2 separate regions of the Homo sapiens genome follow, and region 2 is linked to region 1. The links are contacts of gene promoters, found by promoter capture Hi-C in human tissues and cell types (Jung and others, 2019). All regions are on one chromosome and are shown on one strand. Each heading gives the region's core, a stretch centred on a gene start or on the middle of the fragment in contact. The rest is flanking DNA. Distances are from core to core; before and after follow the strand shown. Region 1 holds the start of CLN6 (CLN6 transmembrane ER protein). Region 2 overlaps IQCH (IQ motif containing H).

Evidence for each region. The method cuts DNA at HindIII sites, captures the fragments that hold promoters and counts their contacts. A contact is called where the count stands out against the background at its distance.
Region 2: a contact is called between a fragment that was not itself captured here and the fragment with the promoter of CLN6 in region 1, in 1 of the 25 tissues and cell types used here (lymphoblastoid cells).

The regions. Positions count from the first base shown.
Region 1 is chr15:68,225,042-68,232,325 of GRCh38, forward strand. It overlaps CLN6 (CLN6 transmembrane ER protein), which reads right to left and starts at 4,687. Exons shown (of 7, transcript NM_017882.3): 1 at 4,461-4,687. The coding sequence starts at 4,543. RefSeq lists enhancers at 3,972-4,041, 4,072-4,151, 5,382-5,431 and silencers at 4,192-4,781, 4,551-4,730. The HindIII fragment of the contact is 6,678 bases long and covers 1-5,792 here.
Region 2 is chr15:67,464,675-67,471,958 of GRCh38, forward strand. IQCH (IQ motif containing H) reads left to right here. Exons shown (of 21, transcript NM_001031715.3): 17 at 453-623. It overlaps IQCH-AS1 (IQCH antisense RNA 1), which reads right to left. Exons shown (of 6, transcript NR_040052.1): 3 at 1,820-2,037. Among named protein-coding and RNA genes, the nearest start is that of C15orf61, 53 kb to the right of the region's middle. The HindIII fragment of the contact is 6,457 bases long and covers 1,566-7,284 here.

The DNA.
Region 1 (7,284 bases), core at 3,437-5,936:
TGAACAAGTCAAGCGGTAACCCACAAATGGGGACCACAGAGAGACTAATTTTGCTTCTATTTAAAGAATGGTGACATACAAGACAATGAAAAGCTTGAACAGAAAAAAAACTAAGGAAATGAAGGCAAATATAATGAGAGAATAAAGAAAGGCAACTAGAAACTCCAAGAAAAACAAAAGTAACATAAGAAAGCAAATGTAACTGTTAAACATTATTTGGCTCTGTTGGAACAATATTTATTAAATACATGGCTTAAATAACATACACATTTTATATTAATTTTCAATGTTTAGAGTCAATCCACAGATAAAACATGGAAGATAATTACGGTTTTAAAGCAGCAGATAATTATAGTCTACTTTGATAACATGAAAACAGAGGACAGAAATTGTAGGAAGGGGTGAGGAAAGCTAAAGTTTAGGGTAGGGGACTAATATCATCTTTTTATTTTAGTTTTGGAGACAAGGTCTTGCTCTGTCACCCAGGCTGGAGTGCAGTGACACAGTCATGGCTCATTGCAGCCTTGACCTCCCAGGCTCAAGCAATCCTCCCATCTCAGCCTCCTGAGTAGCTGGGACCACAGAAAGGCATGTGCTGTCACACATGGCTAATTTTTAAAATTTTTCCTTTTTTCTAAAAGGAATCAAAGGCTGGGCGCAGTGGCTCATGCCTGTAATCCCAGTACTTTGGGAGGCCAAGGCAGGTGGATCACCTGAGGTCAGGAGTTAGAGACCAGCCTGGCCAACACGGTGAAACGTCATCTCTACTAAAAATACAAAAATTAGATGGGCGTGATGGTGGGCACCTGTAATCCCAGCTACTCGGGAGGCTGAGGCAGAATTGCTTGAACTCTGGAGGTGGAGGTTGCAGTGAGCCAAGATGGCACCACTGCACTCTAGCCTAGGGGACAAGAGTGAAACTCCATCTCAAAAAAAGAATAAAATAAAATAAACCAAGAAATAGCAGTTGAGTGTAGTTTTTAAGAGTGTGGACTTGGCTGGGCGCGGTGGCTCAGGCCTGTAATCCCAGCACTTTGGGAGGCTGAGGCGGGTGAATCACAAAGTCAGAAGTTTGAGACCAGCCTGGCCAACATGGTGAAACGCCGTCTCTACTAAAAATACAAAAAATTAGCTGGGCGTGGTGCCGAGCACCTGTAATCCCAGCTACTTGGGAGGCTGAGGCAGGAGAATCGCTTGAACCCGGGAGGCGGAGATTGCAGTGAGCTGAGATCATGCCACTGCACTCCAGCCTGGGTAACAGTGTGAGACTCCATCTCAAAAAAAAAAAAAAAAAAGAGTCTGGACTTTGGAGACTGTTTGGGTTCATATCCCAGCTCTGCCACTAACCAGATCTTGAGCAAGTCACTTAACTTCTTGGGCCTTAATGTCCTCATTTGTAAAATGGAGATAATAGTAGATCCTATCCCTTTTTTTTCTTTTTTGAGACGGAGTCTCACTCTTGTTGCCCAGGCTGGAGTATAATGGCGCGATCTTGGCCCACCGCAACCTCCGCCTCCTGAGTTCAAGTAATTCTCCTGCCTCAGCCTCCCGAGTAGCTGGGACTACATGCGCATGACACCATGCCTGGCTAATTTTTGTATTTTTAGTAGAGACAGGGTTTCTCCATGTTGGTCAGGCTGGTCTTGAACTCCTGACCTCCTGATCCGCCCATCTCGGCCTCCCAAAGTGCTGGGATTACAGGCATGAGCCACCACACCTGGCCAGTAGATCGTATCTCAAGGGTCGTGGTTTAATTAATACATGCAAAAACTTAAGAGCAGGGCCTGATCCATAAAAAGTGCTAGTGTTTTTTATTGTTATAAACATATTATTTGGAAATAGGAATTTGACTCTGGAAAAAAGAGCTAAAAGAAGCTAGGGTGATTGTCTCTGGTGCTAGGGAAGAGTGGGACAGGGATTACTACTTTTTAAAACTTGAAGCCTTTGCTATTTGATTTATCACGGGCACTAATTATAATACTTTCTTTTCTTTTCTTTTTTTACTTTTTTTTTTTTTTGAGACAGTCTCACTGTCATCCAGGCTGGAGTGCAGTGGCGCCATCTCGGCTCACTACAACCTCCGCCTCCCAGGCTCAAGGGATCCTGGTGCCTCAGCCTCCTGAGTAGCTGGGATTACAGGCATGGGCCATCACACCTGGATAATTTTTGTATTTTTTAGTAGAGACGGGGATTCTCCATGTTGGCCAGGCTGGTCTCGAACTCCTGGACTCAAGTGATCCACCCACCTTGGCCTCCCAAAGTGCTGGGATTACAGGCGTGAGCCATGGCACCCGGCCTAATTGTAACACTTTCATTATAATACAAAAACTGGCAACAAAGCAGGTGGACGTTGGAATGGGTTACCTTAAGAGGTAGTGAGCAAAGCACGGATGCAGCAGAGGAAATCCAAGCATCCTAGGAACTGGACAGGATGATTCTGCCTACTCTCTTGAGCAGCAATGATACTGGGAATGGGCTGAAGCCACATTGTGGGGGGCAGAGACACCCTGGGAGACAGAGAGCTCCCACCCTCACACCACCCCCCTGGGAATACCCTGGCTGGTGGGGAGCTCACACAGGGGAAGAGGGACATGACTCCTTAGCAGCCAAAGTGGAGTCGTAAGAGCAGAGCCCGTAAGTCAGAAACCCTGGGTTTAGGCCCTGGTTCTTGCCAGCAAATGATGTAACCTCTTTGGGCCTCCATTTCCCCATCTGTACATTGGAAGTGACATCTGGCAGCTCATTGTCAAGACTGAGTAAGATGCTAGACATGGGAGCCCCACACAGGAGATAAAGTGGTGACCCTATCTGAGACCCACAGGCTGTTCCCATTGGGCTGTCACAGTTCAGGGCAGTCAGTGACCCCCAACTTGGCAAGGATTCGGAACAGAGACATCCCGCAGGCAGAAGAGGCTGCCTGGAAGAGGGGAGCTGGTAAATGGGTTGGGTCACAGCAGAGATGAAACCACTGGACACGGCGTGGGGCAGACAGCCCGGGGACTCAGCCAGTCAGGCTCCTCAGCCCATCTAAGCCTATTTCCTCATCAGTAAAATAATACTTAACTCACAGGCCGAGGGAGACAGGTGAGCTACAGTATGCGGTCTATGGCCAGTACATTGTTTCTAAGTGAAAACGGACACAGTCCGCAGCTGCTCAGCCCGCATGTCCGCAGCAGCAGAAACGAGCCATCCCTCACCTCAGCCCAAGCGCTCAGACTTCTCCCTTCATCCAGGTCGTACCAAAAACTTCCTAACAAGGACTTTGCGCATGCTAGTGCTCAGAAACTTCTCACGACTCCCCAGTGCCTATGGGATAAAGACTGTGTCCTTAACCTGTCACCTAGGACAGGAACTAGGGTGAGACAAGCAAGGCCTCCAAGGCCCAACATTTGAGGCGGCACTCACGGTCACGGCAGTGCGCCTACCCCTAAGTTTTGCAATCTAGGTCCTCAACTCGAGTCCTAGACTTGCTGCAATTAAAGGCCCTTCACAATCAGTCTGCATCCTCCTGTCACTTTCTTTTACAGCCGGAAAGCTCCAGCACCACTAAACTCCTTGCCCTTCCCCACTGTTTCCCTGGATGGAACAGCCTGTCTTCCCTGGGTCCCCTACCAAGTCCTCTGAGACTCAGCTCAAGTGCCACTTCCTCCATGAAGCCCTCCAAGATGACCGCTCACTCCCACTTGGGCTCTGTCTCTCCTGATCCCTACAGGACCGTAAGCCTCTCCCACCTTCACCCTGCCTACCCCCTTACTGCCTGGCACAGCGCTGGGCATACCACAGGCGCTTAAAGAATGCCTGCTGAATGCAGTGAATGTTTCTGGTCAGTAAAACGGGACGAAGGTAGAATGGAGCTCTGCTCGCCCAACGAGATAAACCAAAAACTGAGAAGGGCTCCTCATTCATTCTCTGGACGGCAGCTTCCGCCCTTCCCCGCTGTCTCTTCCATTACATTCGCACATTCTTGGGTGCCCCAGGTCAAGCAGACAGCCTCCTGATAAATGACAGAATCAAGTCCTACTCAGGGCTGGAGGGACCCCGAGAACGCGGAGGTGGCGCCCGGAACTTGCGGATAAGTTGGGGGTCCGAGTGACGAGGTGTGTGTACCCACCGCCCTGGGGAGCTCTCCCAGCGCAGCGGCTGTCCCGGCGCCAGCCCGGGTCGCTGGAACGCGGGAAGGGAGGAAAACCCCAAACTTCGGGCGGGCGCTCCTCCCACCCGAGCAACGGCGAAGCGGGGAGGCCGAGCCCCGCTGGGCCCCAGGCTCCCCAGACAGAGAAGGAAACGCGGGGGCACCGCCGCCACGGTAGCGCGCCTCCAAGCCCCCCGCGCTCCGCTCCGCCCCGGCCAGCGCCGCACACGAGGTTCCCGCCCGGCAGCCCTAGGAGCGTCACGTGGCGGGTCCCGAGGCCCCAGCGCACAGGCGCCTAGCCCGCCCTCTCACCCCGGCGCGCGCCCACCTGGCCTGCAGGAAGGAGGCGCCCAGCTGCGCGCCTGGGCCGCCCGTCGCTCCCAGGTGCTGCCGCCTCCGCGTCGCCTCCATGGCTGCCCCGCAGGCCCCTCGGCCCTGCCTTTCCGAGGAAGAGACCGGTTCAGCTCGGCTGCCCCGGCGGAGGCCGCCGCAAATTCCCAGCGCGGGGCGGTTCGGGGCGGGCCGGCGAGAGCGCGCGGCCCTCGGGAGGAACAGGCGGGGCTGCGGACCCGGGGCGGGGCGGAGCGGAGCGGAGCGGAGCGGAGGGAGGCGGGGCGGAGGGAGACGGGGCGGGCTCCGCTAGGGGAGGGCCGGGCGCTGCGAGTGTGGCGTCCTCGCGGGGCGGGGGCTGCTGGCCTGTCCGGGCTGCGCGCGTGACCACCAGCGGGCTGGGATGTGTTAGGGTCCCTTGCCTGCCTGGGTACGGGAATCTCTGTCTAGGGTGACTGAGGCCTGGGTGTTGGGCTGGGGCGGGGTAGCGACCTGGAGATAGACTAAGCTGATTTAAATGCTCCCCGGGGCAGAGGGTTCTGTGGGATTTCCCTTGTTCTTACGGGTGGAGGAGAGGAGGCAGGACTGGAGACCTGCACGTGTAGCACCCGCGTGGTGCAGCACGTGGGTTGCAGATGTTCTAGTGAGGGGCTGGCGGTGACAGTGGGAAGGAGCGAGTTGGTGACATCTAGAGTCGTGTGAGAGGTATGGTGACTGGGACTCTGGATGTGGGGGGTGAGGGGAGAAGAGTTCAGGCAGTGGCCGGATTCTGCCCCTGGGTGGATAGTGGAGGCACCCCCCGGGAAGTGGGCTAGAGCAGATTTCGTGTAAATAAAGATTCATCTTTGAACGCATTAAGCTTGAGGTGGGTCAGGAAGGCTGTTGGACCGGTGGTCTGAAGCTGAGGCGAGACCTGGGAACCCAGTGGACAGGCTCGTGAGTCACCGGAGCATACAAGACAGACAGAACCTAAGGGGACAGCATCCTCAAGTGAAAAACAGAACCAAAGGTCAAACCTGAGAACAGCCTGCAGGGCAGATTGCCAGGACTTCATTAGTGGTACCACTTTGAACTAGCTGTGATGCGGGCAAATGGCTCAACCCCTCACAGCTTCAGTTTACTCATCTGTAACAAGAAGATGCCTATTGCATCTACTACATTGGAGTTGTGATGACTATATGAAACTCTTAGCAGAGAGCCCAGCACTGGTGGACTAAGTTATTTACAATAGCCCGTCTCGAGACCTGAGGTTTCCCTCCACAGAAAGGTTACCTTCCACACCACTGTCAATGTCACAAACTCTCTCCTCCCCACGGTCACTGTCAGCAGCCCAGGCCGCTAACTAGAACAACTGCAACCAACTCCCATTCTCCCCACCACCCCCGTGCTACACCAGGCGCACACGACATGTGCAGGTCTCCAGTCCTGTCTCCTCTCACCCAGCCCTCAAGCCGCTGCAGAAGGGATGTGCCTCTTGGAAGGGATGTGCCTCAGATGCAAATGCAATGTGCCATTCCCCTGCCCAGTATCCTTGGTCTGCTTCCCAGACCATGAGGGGTCTGAGCTATGCCTATTTCCATTCTATTTTCTTTCCTGTCTTTCTTCTTGGGAGATGTTTATTGGATTTATTTCTTTCCCCTTTGGTCAGAACCTGCATGTCCTTTCTTGGCTGTGGGAGGCTAGGACTGCCTGCCTGGGAGTCATTTTCCATCAGCCCCATCCTGGGCTCTAGCAGCCCACAGGCCACACCTCAATCCCCCCCCTCCGCCCCTGGTCCCCTGAAGAACACATTTGCTTTAAAGCTTTCCTTGTTTCATTTGATCCACACACACCAGGTCGTAAGGAGAACAGGTGATTGTCTCTGTTTTGTAGCAGAGAAAAACCTAGGCCCTGAGCTGAAGTACTGTGCCCAAGGGTCAGCCAAGGACAGCACTCAGACGGGGCCCCAGATTTAATTCTGGTGAATCTGATCTACACATCGATCTCGGTATACACCAGAGAAGAAGGATTGAGGCTTCCCGCTCTGACCCCAATTTCTTATCCTCTGCAGGCTTTGCAAGCCTGCTGGGCTCCAGAGGGAGGGGCATGCAGTGCCCATGATGTCATCATCGATTTAATAACACTCAGAGGTGGGCTTCCAGCCATCAGAGGATGAGGCCGTGTGGAGGGAGCCTCTCTAGCTCATTTAATCCTCCAATCTCTTAAATACAAACACATCTGCCTTTTTTCTGGAGTCCGCTGCTACCCCTTGAGGGGAGGGGAGTCCAACCTGGCAGGGGGCTGGGCCTTTCTGAATGAACAAGATGAGAATTCTCCCTGTCCGGTGGGATTATCAGCCCCCTCTCTTTCCCATCCCACCAGGACACTTTAAAAACACCATCTTCATTAGCTCTTTAAATTGCATGGAAATTTGGGGGAGGAGGATAGAGTAAAGCTGAGGGGTACACATTTGCAGGATCTTGTTTGTGATTATCTGAGAACATGGGCCCTGCACATCAGAAGGGAGTCTAGTCTCAGCTCTCTGAGCTGCAATTTCAGTGGCCAGCATCAAGAAATCTTTCAGCTGAGAAGGTCCTTTGGTATTATGCATCTTGGTGGTTTTGACTTTTCTTTTAGTAGAGGTTCCCACTACTTTTCAATTATAGCTGTATCCGATATTTTTTTTTTTTTTTGAGACGGAGTCTTGCTCTGTCGCCCAGGCTGGAGTGCAATGGCACGATCTCGGCTTGCTGCAACCTCTGCCTCCCTGGTTCAAGTGATTCTCCTGCCTCACCCTCCCAAGTAGCTGGGACTACAGGCATGCACCACCACGCCTGGCTAAT
Region 2 (7,284 bases), core at 3,544-6,043, 760 kb before region 1:
CACTGCTTTTTCCAAAATCAGGGCAAACTGCCCTTTCTCATATTCATCACTCTTTTCCCGTCTTTCTGCTCTACTGTAGTTCCCCACCCTCCAAAGCTTCAGTCTCATTTTCTCAGTAGAAAACCTGGCACTGACCACCTGCACTGACCTGCAGGCCATAGGCAGAAAAATCAAAGTCAACATGAGCTTTGCAAGACTCGGCATCTCTGTCAGATTGTCTTGGCCAAGTATTTCTGTAACTTCCCACAAGAACCTTGAATCTTCTGATTAGAATCAGACTCCATCTCTCAGTTGAACAATGTACAAACAGAAGGAAAAACATCTACTCCATTAAGACACATGGTCACTGGTTTCACTTAGTCTGATGTAGTTTGGTCTGGTTAGGCAGAGGTGGGGCCTTCGCTGCTGTTTGCTGATTTCACCCTCACTTCTACGGCTCCTGTTTTAATCAGGTGTGGGCAACCGGCCTTAACCTCGCATATAGTGACCAGCTGGCCCTGACTCAACTCACCTTATACCTGACAAACGGCCATCTGGATTGCAGTTTGAGCACCCTGGAAGTGCCCCGCTTTGTTCCAAAGGAAAGGAAGAAAACCAAATGCATGAGTGCGCTGTCAATGCCGGTAAGCAAGAGGTGCTTCCTGAAGGTTCTCGGTGTTCAGCAACACCCACTGCCACTGCCTGAGCTCTGTCTAGGAGCCAGGATCTTTGAGTACAGGAAGAAGAAAGAGCCTAAGGCAAGTCATTGGACTTGTCTGAGCAGGGTCTGGAAATGCGAATGTGTTGGTCAGAGGAAAGGGAGAAGCCATTCCCGAATGAACCTGCCATCTGTGGAAATGCGAAAGAGCATGGGGCTCTCCTCCCCTTTTTCTAGGCAGGTACACCTACACCCATTGCCTCAACTACAAGCTGTTTCACACAAAACCCATATTTTTCTAGCCCCACTCTCTTTTGTGAGCTTCAGATTCATGGGTCCAAAATTCTATAGAACATCTCTGCTTCGAATCCTCAGAGTCAAGCTATCCAAAACTGCATCACATTTGTCTTTCTTCCTCCTGTACTTCCTGTTAGTGGATCAGGCCAGAGGCTGATAAGATAACCCCCAGCCCCACATCCAGTCAGCAAGCAGGGCGTGTTGAGTCTAGCTACGAAAATGCCACTAACCTGACCCCTCCTCTCTCTCCACAAAGATAGTGTCTTAGTGTCGGCTTCCACCATCTCACACCTGTATTCCTCCTAAGATTCCCTGTCCCTGCCTGTGCCCTCAGCCTAAACAGACACGGCAGCCAAGGTGGCAAGGTGAAAAGCCAGTCTGAGCATGTTGTTCCCCTGTGTGTGATTTTGAATGGACTCCTGTGATCTTCAGGAAAATCCCATTTCCCAGCTTGGTTAAGGAGCCCCATCATGTTCCACCTCTTCCCACAGCTGCCGCCTCCTCCCTTCTTATTGCTAGCTCCATCAGTGAGGGGGCTGGGGCCAGAGTCCTGGGGCTGGCTGCGGGTTACCAACCTCAGCACCCTGAGTAACAAAGGGCATAGCCCCATGGGGACAGTGGGTGCTTGATTGAGTAGGCTAGGTTGGTCATGGAGAGAGAGAACAAAGGCCAAGGGGACCAGATGCCCTTTGTGCAAGAGTGTATTGGGGACTCTCTGGCCACGGTGCTCTCACAGCTGCCAGAGGGTTTCTTTGGCCTTTCCTTACAACAGTGGGCTTCATACTTTTTTGCAAATGAAGCTCTACTTGAAATCCAAATATATCAAACAGATAAAAGAGGAACTCTAGTGATTAATGGGACCCAACATGAGTGTCCCAGAGATACCTTTTCCAAGCGGTCTCCTGCCTCTCTGTGAACCCCTTTGGGTCCAGTCTGGATTTGAATAACCTTTGACTCTTCCCAGGATCTCTGCAGTCACCATAAGGAGGGCACCTGATGTCTTGGGGGGCTCAGGCAGCTTTTTCCTTTCCCTCTTCTTCATCCAGTTGCCCAATCAGGTACCAGGAAGAACCTTGCTCACAAGAATCCCCTTGATCTCTTTCCTTAGTAAGAAGAGAAGCAGAGTTGAGCTGGAGAGGAGAAACAGACCTCTTTTAATTATGACCCAGGACCTTGCTAAGAGGCTTTCAGGTCCATCTCCACCTGTGGCCTCCATCCTCACCAAAGAGACCTGAGAGACCCTATGTTCAGTGCTAGAGGGAGAAACAGCAGTGACACTTGAGCCCTTCTGGCCAGTGAACCTAAGTCTATGCCATTTCTGCAAGAAGCTGGGGGTCAGGTGTGGTGGCTCACGCCTGTAATCCCAGCACTTTGGGAGGCCGAGGCGGGCAGATCATTTGAGCCTAGGAGTTCTAGACCAGCCTAGGCAACATGGCAAAACCCTGTCTCTACAAAAATACAAAAATTAGCCGGGCATGGTGGTGCATGCCTATAATCCTAGCTACTGGGAAGGCTGAGGCAGGAGGATCACTTGAGCCCTGGAGGTCGAGGCTGCAGTGAGTCATGATCGCGCCATTGTACTCCAGCCTAGTTGACAGAGTGAGACTCTGTCTCAAAAAATAAAAATAAAAATAAAGCTGGAAGCAGAGTGGTATTCAGCACAAGACTTCCAAAGACAATTGCAGCTTTGAAGTATGTTGCTTCAGAAGGCTATCAGCAGAAGTTGTGCTTTGAGTGAGAAGCACTCTTCCATTTTCCCCATGTTGCCTATAGGTTTCATTCCTAGCTATAGGCAACATTCTCCTGTGATCAAGTCTTAAACATTTTTAGGAAGTGCATGCACACAAAAGGGAGGCATTATGATCTTCAATAAGGCCAATACCTCTTAAATCACTAGAGAAAAGCTATGCAGGTTTTCTGGTGTAGGAATAAATTGAAAGGGCTTTTCATTTTAGAAAGATACAGATGTTCCCACCCTTGTGCCACTATGCTTGGGTTGTGCACACACCCTCCTGTGCATGTGTACACATATGATCAGCGATTTTTTTAAAAAGAAGCATGTGCACATGCACACGCGGTACAACTCACAAGCAAATCGAAGCTTCCTGAACAAGTGTGAACAGACTATGATGCCGTCAAGTTTATGATCAGGCAGTTGACAGCCCCCTTTGAAGACTGAAGGAGAAGAAAATGCACAGATGAAACCACAATGATAATGAGAGCGCATTCAAAACTAATGCCTATAAAATGCTTCCAGTGTGGGCCCTTTTCTTTAATAATATGCTATATAGAAGGAAAGCAAACACCTTCCTGGGCTCTCAGAAGAGCTGTTGTCTCATCTCAGAAACAGGTGGGAGAACTGTCACTCAGACCCATTTAGACCAGGTGAATGGGTTTCTGATTCACTGACCTCCACAAAGAACCACTTGAAGGTGTAAACAAGGCCTGATAAATCCCAGACGTGCGTGTTTTAGAAATGAAAAGGAATCGCCTAACAGTGTTTTAACTTTCAATTAATGTTCTGTCCAAACCGGCATCAATCATTACCCTTTTCTGTCAGTTTTTCACTCTTCCTCGCTCTTTCTGGACCCTCCATACCATGGTTGGTGAGTGTCCAAAAGGGAACATCTTTGCAAACATCTTAACACAACCCAAGTCATTTATACACATTTTAGCAGCACATGATCTGTAATGAATGATTAAGTAAAACCTTTTGTGTTAAATTATGATGTTAATAATGATTCTGTCTCCTGTAATTTATTATAAATTCTCAAATGCTTCGGGTTTGATTTTGATAGAATGCAACAACAGCAGAGTTTATGTGATGACTTTATTTTTAGAACTCCTTCTTTGAAGGCACACATTTCCCTGCTACTGCTGCTACTGTAATTATGTACAAAACCAATCACTCATTAGAGTTAGGATACATTATCTTCTAGACAGATGAGGCTAAATAAGCAACACATTAATAATTCAGAGAGCAGTTCATTATGCATGTGGATGCCTGCTTCGTAACTGAAATAAGAACCTCATCAGCCTCTGCCAACCCTTAAACAATAGTTCTGTGTTATTGCAGCCACATTCAAGTTTACGCTTGTTAAACTGCTACTTGGATTATTTTATCAAACATTCATTTATTTGTGGTCCCTTACTGCCGAGAACAGATTTTGGAAGCTCCTTTTTTAAGTTAATGATTTGAGCAATGGGTGTTATTAATTCTCAGAATATTATAAACATGATTAATTTTCAGGCAGAGATTTATTACATAAGGATTTCAACTATGTCAACTGAAATGCATCACTGTCAAAACAAGTATCATGGCGAAAATACAATATGTTCCACACTTCAAGTGCTGGAGCTCAGAACTAAATCAATTTAAATTGTGGCTGAAGCAAAATTATATTATCCAGTGAAAAGGAGTATTTTGAGCTTCCTTTATTTAGCTTGAAGCATTCTTGTTAAATTGTGATTTAGAAAGGTAGTTTAATAAGACTAGACTTCTACCAAGAATATTTTGTCTTTTTTTTTCTCCTGTTTTACTAGAAAAGGCTAACCTCTGAAATTCCCACCTATTCCAAATGTGGTCACTGGACATTTGGAGTGAAGAGTACTGGTCTGGGAGTTAGGGATCATGAGTTCTGATCTTCTCTTCTGGCCTCAGTTTCCTCATTTCTAAAATAAAGGAGGGCTACATGATCCCCAGGGTCACTTGGGGGATTTGATCTTACGGGGCCTACAGAAAGGGACTCTGCACCAAGCCTGGCCCAGGCAGCCTCATGTGTTGCGGATGGCTGAAGGAAGGGACATCTCCTGTACGGGGACACAGGAAGGGCCCATCCCTCTATACTACAGCCTTCGCTTAAAAGGTCTTTTTCTTGCAGGATCTTTTAGAAAGGAGTAATATTGTGACAGGTCATATCCTAAGTTCTCATCAGCCTTTACCTTAACCATCAGTTACTACTTTCAGCAAGAATCAACTAGAAGTAAATTCTGCAGATACTTACCCAATGCCTATTTTGTGCCAGGCACTCTACTAAGCACAGAGGATATAAGGGTGAGTAGCAAAGCCCTCCAGTTTACCAAAGGACACAGAGCCTTTACTCCACCCCGAGTACTTTACTAAGTGCTTTCCATGAATCTTTTTGCAGTCCAATATATTAGGCAGGTGCTGTTATTATGCCCATTTTTAGATAGGAAGACAAGGTTAAGAGATGTTAAGCAATTTGTTAAAGGTCAGTAGGCAAGCAAGTAGGGAAGCCAAGATTTAACCTCGGCCTGTGTTTAACTGTGACACATTCCAACCTGCCTTGCATCAGCTGAGAATCAGTGATCCAGCCCCAGAGTGGAGCTTGTGCTCATCCCTAAAGAAGTCCCTTGTTGAGGCCATAGAGAAAGCTCTTCTTTGAAAAGAGGATGTACTTCCCTGTGTGACGAGGTTGTCTCCAGGAATATTGCCATTATCCATTGGCTTCTCGTCTGCTCTGAGCTCAGCCTCAGCTTCTGAGTCTCACACAGAAGCACTAAATGGACCGGATGTTCATAGAGGAGTCTTAGGGTTTTTTTGTTTGTTTGTTTGTTTTGAGACGGAGTCTCGCTCTGTCGCCCAGGCTGGAGTGCAGTGGCACGATCTTGGCTCACTGCAAGTTCCGCCTCACAGGTTCACGCCCAGGTTCATACTCCTGCCTCAGCCTCCCGAGTAGCTGGGACTACAGGCGCCCGCGACCATGCCTGGCTAATTTTTTTGTATTTTTAGTAGAGACGGGGTTTCACCATGTTGACCAGGATGGTCTCGATCTCCTGACCTCATGATCCGCCCCCATCAGCCTCCCAAAGTGCTGGGATTACAGGCGTGAGCCACTGCGCCTGGCTGGAGTCTTAGATTTTAAAAAGAACATGTAACTGGACATGGTTTCCTATACATAGCACAGATTTCCAAGCAAATAACACGGCATGGAAAAGAGCATGTCACTTATACTATGAACCATCTAGAAAAGCTTGACTATGTTTTTTAAAAAATAAACAGTTCACACACTAAAAATATGCATGAAATATACATCTTCAACTCTTGTCTTCAAAATCAAGTTTAATGGGGTTCTCATTTAATTCTTTGAAATACATAATATATTCACATGGTTCAAAAGGCAAAAGGTGGAAACAGTCACACATGGACAAACCTCCTTTCCATTGATCAGTTCCCACCTCATCCTACAAAGGTAACCACCATTCTGTGTCTATATATCCTTTCAGAGCATCTTTTTACATATACAAGTAAATACACATACAGGTGATCCTTTTCCCCCTTTTATACCCAAAATGTAGCCTATAATACATATTGTTCTGAATCTCACTTTTTTCTTTGGAGAGCTTTCTCTAACACTTCATTAAAAATGTTCTCATTTCTTTTTTTTCAGATTCAGACACCTGAGCAGTATCATTTCTTTTTTACAGCAACATGTTATTTCATTGCATGGATGTGCCATAATTTATGTACCCTTCCCCCATCGGTAGATTTTTGGGTTGTTTTCAGTTTTTTCATATTACAGTGCTGCAATGAATAACTTTGTGTATATATCATTTGGCACATTTAAGGTATATCTTAGAATACATACCATAAAGTGGAATTTTGGCTCAAAGGACATAACCCATAAAAATTAAAATTTTTAATTTCAATAGATATTTCCAAATCATTATTTCTTTTTTGATCCTTATCAAACCTACATAAATTGTACAGCATCAGAAGAGACTAGTTTTTACAAGTCAACCTTTTAATAGAAAATAATGTTTTCTATTTGTATAATGCTTTATACTTTAACTATACATGAGCTTATTTGATCCCCATGATAACCCCAAGAAATCGATGTTAAGGATTATTATATACATTTTACAGAATAGGAAACTGAGGCTAAGCAAAGTTAAGTGAGCTGCCCAAGTCATAAAGGTGGTACATAGCAAAGCCCAGGTCTTCTGATTCAAGTCACCTTCTGATGAAAAGGTTTATTGGTTAGTTGGTCAGTTTTAATTTGAAATAATTGACCTTATCTTTGAAACTATTTAGTTTAATATGTGAAAATAATTGCTAACATTTATTGAGAGCTTACTGTGTGCCAGACACTATTCCAAGGTCTTTACATTCTCATCTAATCCTCCTCTCAATACTCCTATGCTATTCACTTGTGCTATCAGGCTGGACATAAGACAATCCTAGGTGATTGATAGTTTCTTCCTGTAGAAACTGTGCAGTTGGCTAGGTCTTCTAAAAAGTAGTTGTATCTTGTAAGTATTATTCTAATGCATTTATTTAGCACTTAATATGTGCCAGGACTTTCACCAAGCATCAGGAGACAAAGATA